3 separate regions of the Homo sapiens genome follow, and all the other regions are linked to region 2. Evidence: promoter capture Hi-C in human tissues and cell types (Jung and others, 2019). All regions are on one chromosome and are shown on one strand. Each heading gives the region's core, a stretch centred on a gene start or on the middle of the fragment in contact. The rest is flanking DNA. Distances are from core to core; before and after follow the strand shown.

Evidence for each region. The method cuts DNA at HindIII sites, captures the fragments that hold promoters and counts their contacts. A contact is called where the count stands out against the background at its distance.
Region 1: a fragment that was not itself captured here is called in contact with the fragment with the promoter of LEPROTL1 in region 2 in 1 of the 25 tissues and cell types used here (adrenal gland).
Region 3: a contact is called between a fragment that was not itself captured here and the fragment with the promoter of LEPROTL1 in region 2, in 1 of the 25 tissues and cell types used here (mesenchymal stem cells).

What each region holds. Positions count from the first base shown.
Region 1 is chr8:30,541,080-30,545,269 of GRCh38, reverse strand. It overlaps RBPMS (RNA binding protein, mRNA processing factor), which reads right to left. Exons shown (of 9, transcript NM_001008710.3): 6 at 646-776. Among named protein-coding and RNA genes, the nearest start is that of SMIM18, 95 kb to the left of the region's middle. RefSeq lists enhancers at 1,057-1,664, 1,665-2,272, 2,881-3,490, 3,491-4,098, 4,099-4,190. The HindIII fragment of the contact is 5,733 bases long and covers 1-4,190 here.
Region 2 is chr8:30,093,727-30,097,707 of GRCh38, reverse strand. LEPROTL1 (leptin receptor overlapping transcript like 1) reads right to left here and starts at 2,300. Exons shown (of 4, transcript NM_015344.3): 1 at 2,180-2,300. The coding sequence starts at 2,195. RefSeq lists a silencer at 1,993-2,452. The HindIII fragment of the contact is 5,830 bases long and covers 1-3,981 here.
Region 3 is chr8:29,613,569-29,617,590 of GRCh38, reverse strand. No RefSeq gene overlaps it. Among named protein-coding and RNA genes, the nearest start is that of LINC02948, 53 kb to the right of the region's middle. The HindIII fragment of the contact is 3,374 bases long and covers 763-4,022 here.

The sequences.
Region 1 (4,190 bases), core at 236-2,735, 450 kb before region 2:
AGGCTATTTTTAACTAAGAAAGAAAGCTGGTCAGAATAGAGATCTCTACCTTGACCTGTAATTCCATCTTAGACACTATCTTGTATCTCCTTTTCTACAGGGTTTCCTGAAAATGGAGAGAAGGAACCCTTAATCTTTCCTGTAACATATTTAAGAAAGTACAGCCTTCCCCCCTGGAAGCTTTCCCTTTGGTCAGAGATTCTTCTCACCGTACACGAGAGTGGAAAACTCTCAACACACAGAAACACGCACAGACGCACATATCCCCTTCTCCTAGCACACACCTTCCTCTGCAGCCCTTCCACACAAGGCACACACGTATACACTCTGGTGATGCCCTCTAGCTAGCTGGGAGCCAGGTGGATAAACCTGCCCCGGTCTCTCATGTGCGATATGAGGTGAGATCATTAAGGAAGAGAGAGGTGTCATTTGGGGCAAACATCAGGCAGTGGGTGATATCATTGCTGTCAGACGATCCTCGTCAGTCCTGAAGGAGTGTCAGCTTGATTTAGAGGGGATCATTAATCTCTTGAGGGTGGATCTGTTAGCTGGATAGGTGTTAGTTGTATGGTGTGCTCTCGGGAACCAAGTTTGAAAGGACTGGTGGTGAAGTGAGTGAAGTCCTGGCCGATGGGTATCAATTACCTGGGCATGCAGTGAAGCGGGATAGGTGAAAGCAGGAGGAGGTAGAGCAGGCGCTAACTCCGCTGGGTACAGAGGGTACGGGGCCCACACTTCAGGGCTACTGGGGTAAAGTGCAGGCACTGTGAGCTCATCTGCAAGAAAAGAATAAGGCGAGAGTTAGTGGTTACCATACAGCTAGTTTCAAATCAGAAAACAAAACACCCAACAACCCCGAGCCCCAATCACTGTCGGAAGTCAAATTACTCTCATTCTTTTAACAACCTGTTGTTTGTTGGCTTTGGTCCCACAAATGCTAAGTAAGGGAACGAAAAATATAACACAAGAAAAGCAACAAGCATCTGCTGCCTGTCTGGCCTGCTGAGATCTCAGGCCTGGACTCCGCCTTGAACACTCTGATGTCTTTCCGACTGTAGCTGGGGAACCCAAAACAGTGGGAATTTCCTGCACAAAACAGGAAATGCGACCCTCTGAGGAAAAGGGAGAGAAAGAACCAATGAAAGACATCCCATGAGAACCCACTGCAGAGCCTTTGGGAAAACCATGGCTTAACGGCAGGGCCTCAACAGACCAGAACTGGAAGACTTTTCTGTTTATTGGCATAATTACTATTGACAAGTCAGTAATGATCATCAAGCATTTTCCACGTAGCCCTCAGAAGTACAGGGCCAAATACTGTGACCACAGGGCATTTAAGATCTTAAAAATTCAGAGAATTGAAGTGAAAAACCTTGAGAATCCTGATTAAAATTACACTCCACAAAGATGTAAACAGGAACATTTCCAGTTGCTCTTTACAGACTAACTTTTAGGGGAAAAAAGTGAGTCATATTGCCAAGTGCCTGGTCTAAGTGTTCCTCAGGCAGCTCCAATTCCACCCAGGTCAGGCTGCAGTTGGCCAGATTGAAGGGCAAGTGCCTGGGCCTCCCATGTATCAGGAAGCAATCCATTAAAAGTAACAGCAAACACATGAGGGAGCTTCTCAGGAAAGGCAAAAATAACATCAGTCAATAGCAAGGAATCTGGGCCCTGTGAAGCAGCAATCTCAATATGTGCTTTTATCACCTGTCAAAATCTGAAATCAAGTGTGCCAAGGACGCTATCCAGGACTAACACGGGAGTCAGCAAAAGGTGATTTGATAGAAGTCATTAGTAACTCTGCCATTCAGTACTTTCCCTGAGTCTACAGTGCAAGGTCAACAGAGTCACTTTATTCCTTCCTACCATCTAAGGAGCCATTCCAGGCCCAGTGTCTCTGCATCCTTCCCATCCCCCGAAACTCTTCAATACAGAAAGGGGGCTAGCAACAGAAAACTGCTTTGCTCGGTGTGATGTGGGACTGCTCTATGGCGAAACCAGAAAGTAGCAGAACCTGTGTGAGGCTTCCCCACAGCCAGCTTGCATGGCACGAGCTTCTCTCAGGATGGTAGGGAGTCAGGAGCTGACTGCTGATGATACGTTCAGAGGGCAGTTTGTACCCATTTTCAGATATGATGGGACCCCAACAATGTGGTTTAACATACTGTTGCTGGTTGGCCTTCCTGACTCCCTTCTCCTCTCAACAAGGCAGTAAAAACTACCTCCTCAGGACTTGGTGATAGAAAGACAGACTGCCTGTGCATCTAGGTGGGAGAAATAAGCCCCTAAGAGTGGACTGATCATTATTAGTCAGGGTGAAAGCAACAACACCAGAGTCCTTAAAATGATCAGGTCCACAGCATCTACTGTGTTCTAGGGTGTGTAGGTGCCTGTAGCCCAAGGCTTAGGGACCACCCTCAGAGGGGCTGGGAGGGGCTTAATAGATCCCTGTGCTTCCTGTTGTGATGAGACCATGTGATTTCCAGAGTAACTCACGTGGGAGCCCAGCTAGTGGAAACTAACTGCTACCAGAACCAATGCCTTGAATTTTAAACAAACAACCATTCTCAGGAATGCCAAACTATTATTGTTGTTTAGCGACCAGGCTATTTTAAGACATTCTGAGTCTTTTAAATCCTCAGTACACTGTGGCCCATGCTTGTCTGTTCCCACTGTGATAGCAGAAGACCATAAAACTGATACATACAACTGATTCCAAATGGCAGAGCCCTCAGGGGGAACGTGTTTGGCCTGCAGCCTGTCAGTGGTCCTTCCTTATCTTCCTGGCTAACTGGGGTGGGGTGGGTAGAGGTGGTTACCTGATCAGTAGGTCCTTCCTTTAGAAACTTTTAAAAATGAAATGAGTATGTCCTTTAAGATATCTGATCCTAAAGAGATAAGCAACAGAGATAAGCTGGAATCAGATTTCAGTGTCAGCCTGACTGCTGGAATTTATGTTTCCCAGACTTTTCTCTGTTTTTATCCTGAAGCATTACTTCCCATTAGTTCTTTACTGATGCTTAGAGACAATTCACCATTGATATTTGCACAAAACCCAGCCCAGCAGAAAAGAGGATTTGGTCTGAAATCCCCTAAACTCAAAATTGCTGAGTAGTAGTAACGTATTAGTGAGGCAGAAGCCTAAAAGAGATAAAGGTGAACTTACACTTGATAAATCCCTTGATACATCTTATCATCTCCGTCTCCCTTCTCCCATCATGAAGGAATGTGGAATTACCATAAACATCAAAAGATACGTGGTCTGACCAGGTCAGGATCGCACCTGAAGCAGTCCTCACCAACACCTAACTTTCCAGTATGAGCCTGAGCACTCTCCTAACACACACATACACTCCTTTGACGGAAATGGGTATTAAAGCAGAATAAGCTTTTTGCGTTTGTTTGCTTTTTCGTTGCTTGAGAAAATTACAAAAGCTAGAGAGACTGGTTTTCCACAGCACAAGCCCTTCACAAGGACTCCCCACTGAAGGAGCAGGCAAGGCCCTGATGGGTTTCACCTTCCTGAGTCACTGCCCATCCTGCTCAAACTTTACAGGATGGAAGGCTGAAAAAAGAAGACAAAGATTGCTGCCCAAGGCCCACTGGGATGAATTGGAGTTTAGGGAGGGGGTGAGATTCCTCTTGACAAAAGAGGCTCTTGACCACCCAGAGTGAGCCAGGCCCCAGTAAGCAGAAAGAGGGCAGATCAAGAGGCCAGGGCTTTTTTGTCTGGGCCTAATCCATCCCTCCTGAGAGGCAGGGCAAATCCTTTCCCATTGCACCAATCTGGCTACATCTTTTCTTTTTTGCACCTTCTGAGGATAATGTTGTTGAGGGCTCACAATATACATCTGAATAGGCTTTTTTTCTTAGCATGAGAATATGCAACCAGAAGAGCTCAAATTGGATTCTGAAAAACAAGGACTGGAAACTTCCAACTCCACCCTGTAATCCCTTTGAAACGAAAGAACTGCAGAGCGTCTGATGAAGGTTTAAGCCTACAGAGCTTGGGAAGATCATCTTCTGCCTTTTCGTTTTAGATGAGGAAACAGATGCAGAAAGGTGAAGCTTACAGTCTACGGTCACATTGAAAGAGAGATAAACATGAATGACTCTTAGAAACAACTGAGAGATGGAAGAACAAGGAGAATCTTTAATGGACTTAAGTATGGCCATGTATCTCTGAGTTT
Region 2 (3,981 bases), core at 1,051-3,550:
TGTGTGTGTATATATATATATATTTTTTTTTTTTTTGAGACAGAGTCTCACTCTGTTGCCCAGGCTGGAGTGCAGTGGCGTAATCTTGGCTCACTGCAACCTCTGCCTCCCGGGTTCAAGCAATTCCCTGCCTCAGCCTCCTGAGTAGCTGGGATTACAGGTGCCTGCCACCATGCCCAGCTAATTTTTTTGTATTTTTAGTAGAGATGGGGTTTCACCATCTTGGACAGGTTGGTCTTGAACTCCTGACCTCATGATCCATCCGTCTCGGCCTCCCAAAGTGCTGGGATTACAGGTGTGAGCCACCGCGCCAGGATTAAATACTAAATTTTTTTTAAATATTCATAACACAGTTTGATGTGACATCTCATCTTCCAGTCATACCGAATAAGGTAGCCAATTAGAGGTTAAATAAATTGCTTAAAAGTGTTCTCAAAACTTGCAGTTTCTTCAATCTTATGAAATTGGCAACTAGGAAGATTTATATATACACTTCATCATTTGTATATAAGCTGTTTCTTAAATGACACATCAACAAGGCAAGAATTCATACAGTAATTGAGTGATGCAACATTTGGAAGACAAAGCTTAGATAAGTCTGGGTTCTACTCCCAAAGCCTCTAGGCTAGGCATGGAGCAGCCCAATTATCTAGCAAAACTCTCTAGAGACAAGATGCTGATTCTGTGATTACAAAGAAATTAGAGTAGAAGGAGGGACCACTTCTCTAACCTGGGAGTTACCAGAAAATCCAATATATCAAAAAGTAATAGACAAATGGCTCAAGCAATGCCTAATGGTCTCTAATTACAGCAACACTCCTTCCTAATATAAAGATATTAGGCCAAGAGAAAGAAACATACTGACTCATAACAACCAGAAAATCCTGCTGAAATCAAAAGTGCAGTTCACCTGAGGCACCTTCATCAGTTTAATGCAGTATTTCCCTAGGTCTGGAGAAGTAAATTACAAAGCTATTTTCTTAAGAGACCCCCGCATTATTGACACTGAAGAAACAGGGAAGAACAGGGAAACGGGCAACATCCTAAAAACCACAGCAATTCACAATAACTGCCTTTCACATAAGGGTTTAGAGTCTATCATAGTTCAAAAGGAGATTACAAAGTATCCCAGTTGCTTAAATGACAAGGTTTTATATGGGAAATGAAATGTTTTCAGACATTGAAAATAAACAAGAAACAGTAAGACTGTGACCCTGAAAAAAAACTCGATTAAGTTTTCCTTAGAGAAGAAAAAATACAAAGAAAACCACTGCTCCCAAAGTTACCTGCTTCCTGCCTGACTGCCCTTCTACAGAGCGGCAGGTCAAGAAATCAATGTAATTAGTTAAGCAGTAGCTGAAAACTTTGCTTCTCATCACACTGACAACAAAACTACCTAACAGGTGGAACAAATGCAACATTCCTTTTTTTAAAAGAAAATACATGAATAAGCCAGTAGTTTTTCATTAAGTTGTACCAGTATTTTATCTTCTTAAAAAAAAAAAAGGAAAAAAAGAAAAATTTTGAAATTTGAAAAAGCCTCAGGGTGCAACTGCGGAGAGGGAAGAGAGCCAGGAGCACTTTGGGGTCGCCTACAGGATCAACTCTAGGGTCCAGACACCGCAGATGAAAATGCACCCGTTTCGGGAGCCTGTAAAGCCTCGGGCGCGGGCGGCCGGGGTGGACGTGGGGTCGAGGTTTCGGGCAGACCCGTGCAGCGCCCGCAGACCGCACTTGTGCCTTTCGGTGGGAAATGACTGGTTTTCCATAGCTGGCATCTCTAGCAGCCTCAGCCTTCTCAATCCCACGCTCTGCCTGCCTCTCTCTCGGATGCAAACTCCTGCAAAACGTGTGTGGCCGTCCAAGTCGCGACGGGACTCCTCACTGACCGCCAACCACTTCATATTTTGTCCGGGGGGCGATGGGTGGGAGAGAGGCTGCCGAAATCGGCAGAAAGTGGGGGCTGCGGGGCGAAGCCGGGGTCGCAACCGTCCGTTGCCCGAGGGCGCCGCGCCCACCTCCGGGCCAAGCGCAGGGCCGGGGCGGGGGTCGCTTCCCCGGCGCAGGGACCCCACGCGCGCGCGCGAGCCCGGAGGGGAAGTGCGGGGGCCGCGTGGGACCCCCGGCCCATCTTCCCCCGCCGGCCCCAGCCCTCCCGCGTCCTGCAACCCAGGCCCACCTTTGATGCCTGCCATGGCGGTGACGTCGCTCCTGGCTCCACGACCCGAGGCGGCGGCGGCAGCAGCGGCAGCCGGGAGACCCAAGACGCGCTACGGCGGCCAGACAACACCCGGAAGTGCGCGACGCAGCACTTCCGCCGGCGACTCGGGCTCGCGCGGGGGCGCGGGGGACGCGCCGGGCTGGGCTGTGGGGTCGACCCCCTGCCTCTCTTCTCCGCGGGTGTGCAGATCGCCGCCGGCCGAGGCTTGCCGCCGCCGCCCCGACTGGGGGAATGAGCAGGCGCCAGGTCTTGAATTCCTGTCAGGGCCGGTCTGGGGGCTCCCTGCTGAAGCCCCTGTCCCTGATCCCGCAACCTCCCGCGTGCGTTGGGAAGGGGTCGCGGGTAGCGGCCGTCCTTTGGATGCACGTGTGATGGCTTTTGGCTTAATTTCACATTGTTTTGTTTGTTTTTTGAGACAGGGTCTCTTTCGCCCAGGCTGGAGTGTGATCACGGCTACTGCAGCCTCGATCTCCAGGGCTCAAGTGATTCTCTCACGTCGGCCTCGCAGTAACTGGGACCACAGACATGAGCCACCATGCCTGGCTTTTTTTTGTTTTGTTTTGTTTTGTTTTTTGTAGAGACAGGGCGGGGTGTGAGACTCTCATCTTGTTGCCCAAGCTGGTCTCCTGAGCTCAAGGATCTGCCCTCCTCGGCCTCCCAAAGCGCTGGGATTACAGCTTGATACCCTACCTTGTTTTAACCTGATTGACTCGCTCTTAGCTGAGAGAGCGGGACAGACTCCATTTTGGTTTCTTCGCTTGCAGCACCTTGTCCCCCTCCCTTAAGGACATAACTGGTGCAGACTGACACCAAGCACATCCAGGAATGTGCTTACTGATAAGATACTGAGGCAAGCTGTACCAGCAGCTCCTGGGAACGCGCTCGGTTGATGGTACCCAAAGCCCCTGCGTTTATCTCTTTGTGATAATTTAAGCCCCATGCACCTGGAACTGTTTATTTTCCTGTAACTGTTTCTATAACCATTTATCTTTTAACTCTTTGCCTGTTCTGCTTCTGTAAAAATTGCTTCAGCTAGACTACCCCTTCCCTATTTAGACCAAGGTATAAAAAGAAATCTAGCCCCTTCTTCAGGGCCGAGAGAATTTTGAGCTGTAGTCGTCTCTCGGTCGCCGGCAATAAAGGACTCCTGAATTAGTCTCAAAGTGTGGTGTTTCTCTATAACTCGCTCGGTTACGACAACAGGTGTGAGCCACTGCGCACATTATTTTACTGCGCCTTTTCCTCTCTCCCTCCATCCCTCCATCCCCAGTCCTATAATTAAGGTTAGTTGGGTGGTCTGCACTTGGCTCCTTGGTTTCCTATACAGGACTAGGGTTCTGGTGAGGACCCACCTCCAGAGATAGGAGCAGCAGGGCTCAGTAAAGGGTGGATTTAATAGAAATCCAGTCCCTTGGGTGGCTGTCTTTTTGGTAGTAACAAGGCAAGGAAAAAAAAGTGAAAGCCCAGGTTCAACACCTTTATTTACACATCCTACAATTATTTATAGAACATTTACTATGTGTTAGGCACAGGGTTAGACGCTGAGATGTGCAAAACCAGGTACTGTTTGCAGACTGGTGAGGAAGACAGACACACAAAAAATGTAAAATTGCAATAATGATAATTGCTAGTAAAGGGGATCAGAATATGTCACTCTAAAATATGCCACTTTGAAGTCTGGTGTGGTGACTCAGGCATGTGATCCCAGCACATTGGGAGGCTAAGACAGGAGGATCGCTTTGGCCCAGGAGTTGAAGACC
Region 3 (4,022 bases), core at 1,200-3,699, 480 kb after region 2:
TCCTCCCCTTTTGGACCATATAGGGTAACTTCCGGATGTTTCCATGGCATTTTTAAAGTGTCATGGCACTGGTGAAATTGTCTTGTAACCTGCTAATGCATTATAGTTAGTGTATAATGAGCAGCGAGGATGACCAGAGATAACTTTTCATTGCTATCTTTGTTTTGGCCGGCTTCTTTACCTCATCCTGTTTTATCAGCAGGGTCTTTATGACCTGTATCTTGTGATCTCCTATCTCATCCTGTGACTAAGAATATCTGATTTCCTGAGAATGCAGCCTAGTAGGCCTTCGCCTTATTTTACCCAGTCCCTATTCAAGATGGAGTTGCTCTGGTTCGAACATCTCTGACAATGTCAGCATATCTCTAAAGAGAAATTTCTGTTTTTACTCACTGCTTTTTCTCCAAAGGGTCATAACACGAAGTCCTGTGGGAATAGCACAGATCTTTCCAGTTAGGGGGAGAATGGGGGCTCAGGCCAGCACAGCCAGTGAGGAAGAGCTCCCCAAACACCCCGGGAGCCAGTCTCCGGAGAAAGCTTCAGGAGGTGGGCAGTGGGTAAACAAAAGAGAAAACTCAGAGATAAATGAGAAGGTGCCCCCGTCTTTAGCAAGAAAATATCCAATTCATCAATGTCCAGACACCCCCACCTCCTACAGGGCTGACATCTGAAACAAAATTAAGTAACCAAATACAAGTTCCTTCCTGTCAGTAGAAGGCAATATTATTAGCAAATTAGCAAACACATCCATCAGTGGTAAAAGAAAATCAATGGGTTTTGGAGTTTTAAAAAAACAGGAAAAAGGCTAGAACTAACAGCAGAAAGGTAATACACCCCTTAGAGAGCTTGACGTTTCTTCCATGGAGATTATGGTCCCAGCCAGCTTCACACCCCCACTCCCACTTCCTTACCCAGAAAAGAGGGGACCTCGCCCTCTTTCCAGACACTGCAATGGCTTCCCTCTGCTCCCTGCTTTCAGGAGCTAAGCTTTGGAGTTATTTCTTTGCTTGCACAATGGCTGGCCAAAGCCACAAGCCCCCCGGCCCTAAAGGAAGTCTGTTGGAGACATCTCCTTTGAAGACAGGGAGCAAGGGTCGACCTGGTGATTTTTTCTTCTGGTATTCCCCCTCCATGGCAATGAATGGATATGCAGTCAAGAAAGAGCCTTCAGATGGCTAAGCCGGCAGGAGGGATTGTACAGTTCCCTGCTTTTAGAAAAGTATGTAGGATAAGAAAAGTGACAGCAGAGACCTAACAAGGAATGGCTCCACCCTGCCCCTGAGCTGTGAAGCAGCTGGTGGACCTGGGAAAGCGGCTTGATCTCCCCTCCCCTCTTCTCCTCTCCTCTCTCCTCCCCTCCCATGTCTTTTTCTTTCTTCTTCCCTTCCCTTGCCTTTCCCTCCCTTCCCTTCCCCTTTCCCTTCCCCTTCCCTCCTTCCCTCCTTCCCTCTCCTTCCTTTCTTTCTTTCTTTTTCTTTCTCTCTCCTTCCTTCCTTTCTTCCTTCTCCTTTTCTTTTTTACTTTCTCTTTCTTTCTTTCTTTCTCTTTCTTTCTTTCTGTCTTTCTTTCTTTCTTTCTTTTCCTTCCTTCCTTCCTTTTCTTCTTTCTTTCTTTCTTTAAATCTGGTAAAAGCTACAAACACTATCCTCAAAAAAAAAAAAACACACACACACATTTTCTGAGGATTCACACACACAATGGGGGCTCAAGTACCCTTTGCTTTAAGAAAATTCACCATGCCCTGGAGTCAGACCCACCTGGCACCCTTCTGCACTGAAGTGCAGCTGAGGGCATGAACCTGGCACTTTCCATGAGGGCAGCAGAGGTTGCTTTGAACTAACCAAGGGGGGCTTAAGTCATGGGATGGAGCACAGCCTCCTTCCGACATCTGGAATTTTAATGAGCTTGGATCAGGCCGGCAGACCCAGAGAGCATGCTTTAGGGCCCACAGAAAAGTTTTTTTATAAGCATCTTTGTCCATTGTCCAAGCATTCAGTAGGCACTCAATAAAGATGTTTAAGAATGACCTTATTTTGTTGAAGAGCAGATTCCTTTAGCAATGGACATTGCTAAATGCCTTCGCCTCTAGGGATTTGGGCAATGTACTAAAACCCCCTCCCTCGTTCTACTCAATCATCTTATTTTTGCCTCATGTAAAGCCCAGCTTAACTTTCAGAGGAGCACATGACTATCAGAGGCTGAATGGCCCCCTCCACTTCCGGGGGTGCTGGCATAGGTAGAGTACAGCCAGGCACGCACACATCTCCAGCTGGGTTCACTTGTCTTTCTGGAATCCCATTAGGTCCCAGGGGACAAGTAGAGCGCCTGATACCACTTGCCCTAATCCAACCCTGATCCACCATGTGAGGAGAGAAGAAGGCAAAGACTCACAAGACCCCATCTTCCCCCACCTTCAATACAAGCATTCCCGAGTAATACCCATTTCCAAAGTCAGCCCTCCTTTCCACTTCTCTGCTGTGTTCCAGACACTGACTGCCCCTTTTCTTGGAGCCATGAACAGCACCCAGAAGGAGGCTATTTTTGGTTCCCCTTTAATTAACCTCCTCTCTGCTCAGAACAGGCTTCTCCCTCCCCTGTTACCCAACTCAATCCCCCCTCCAGGAGTTTCTCTTCCTTACAGGGATTAGGAGAGTGTGTGGGGAGCCCATTTTCTAATGGTGTCCTTGGGCATCCAGGAGTAGGGAGAACGTCTAAGGGACAGGTGCAGAAAAAGCTCAAGCACCTTCCCCACTTCTGTCCCCTGTACAGGATGGGCCCCTCATCCCTGGTTCAAGATGTGTCCTCCAGGGTGCAGTGTGCATGACTCATTTCCGGAGTCTCAGTCAAGAGAGCTCTTTTCCCTGCCTCCTTGACAAGCTGGGGACTCTGGGGGATTTTCAGTTTCTTCCCTGGTATAGGTATTGCCACAGCAAGAATTGCACCTGTTCCAACAGGAAGTACTGTTTATGATGATACAAAGCTTAGAGAGATTCGAGAACATCAGAATCTGAAAATAACTCTAGAAGATTCCTCCCTCAATATCTGCATTTGACACATAAGAACACTGAGGTCCAAGGGAGTGAGGAAGGAAAATGCATTTTCTCCATTTGACATCACCATCTACCTGACATTCAAGTGCTTTTCAACTCTAGGCCAAGTCGCTGCACCTAGGTCTTTCCATTTTAAAATATTATATTTTTTATTTTTTGTAGAGACAGGGTCTCACTACATTGCCCACGCTGGGCTCAAGCGATACACCTGCCTTGGCCTCCCAAAGTGCTGGGATTAACAGGTTTGAGCCACCACGCCCAGCCAGTAGCTATTTCCATTTAAGAAATGTCCATACCGAACAAGTTTGCTGGAATGACTGAGGGCATAGATATTGTGTCCAGAGTTGTTTCCTTCCAGTGGGTTCGCGGTCTCGCTGACTTCAGGAATGGAGCCACAGACCTTCAGGGTGAGTGTTACAGCTCTTAAAGGTGGTACGGGCCCAAAAAGTGAGCAGCAGCAAGATTTATTGTGAAGAGCAAAAGAACAAAGCTTCCACACAGTGGAAGGGGACCCAAGCGGGTAGCCGCTGCTGGCTGGGTGTGGCCAGCTTTTATTCCGTTATTTGTCTCCGCCCATGTCCTGCTGATTAGTACATTTTACAGAGTGCTGATTGGTCCATTTTACAAACCTCTAGCTAGACACAGAGCGCTGATTGGTGCATTTTTACAGAGCACTGATTGGCGCATTTTACAAACCTCTAGCTAGCCACAAAGTGCTGATTGGTGCGTTTTACAATCCTAACTACAGAGTGCTGATTGGTGCATTTTATAATCCTCTTGTAAGACAGAAAAGTTCTCCAAGTCCCCACTGGACCCTGGAAGTCCAACTGGCTTCACTTCTCAATAGAATAGTGCAAAAAGTTACCTAGCACAGACAGAAGCCAGGCTCAGAAAGAAGTGAGACTTCTGTCTCCATATCACAGATAATATGTGGTAGACAAAAGCTTATGACAACTGGGGCAATGTTAACAA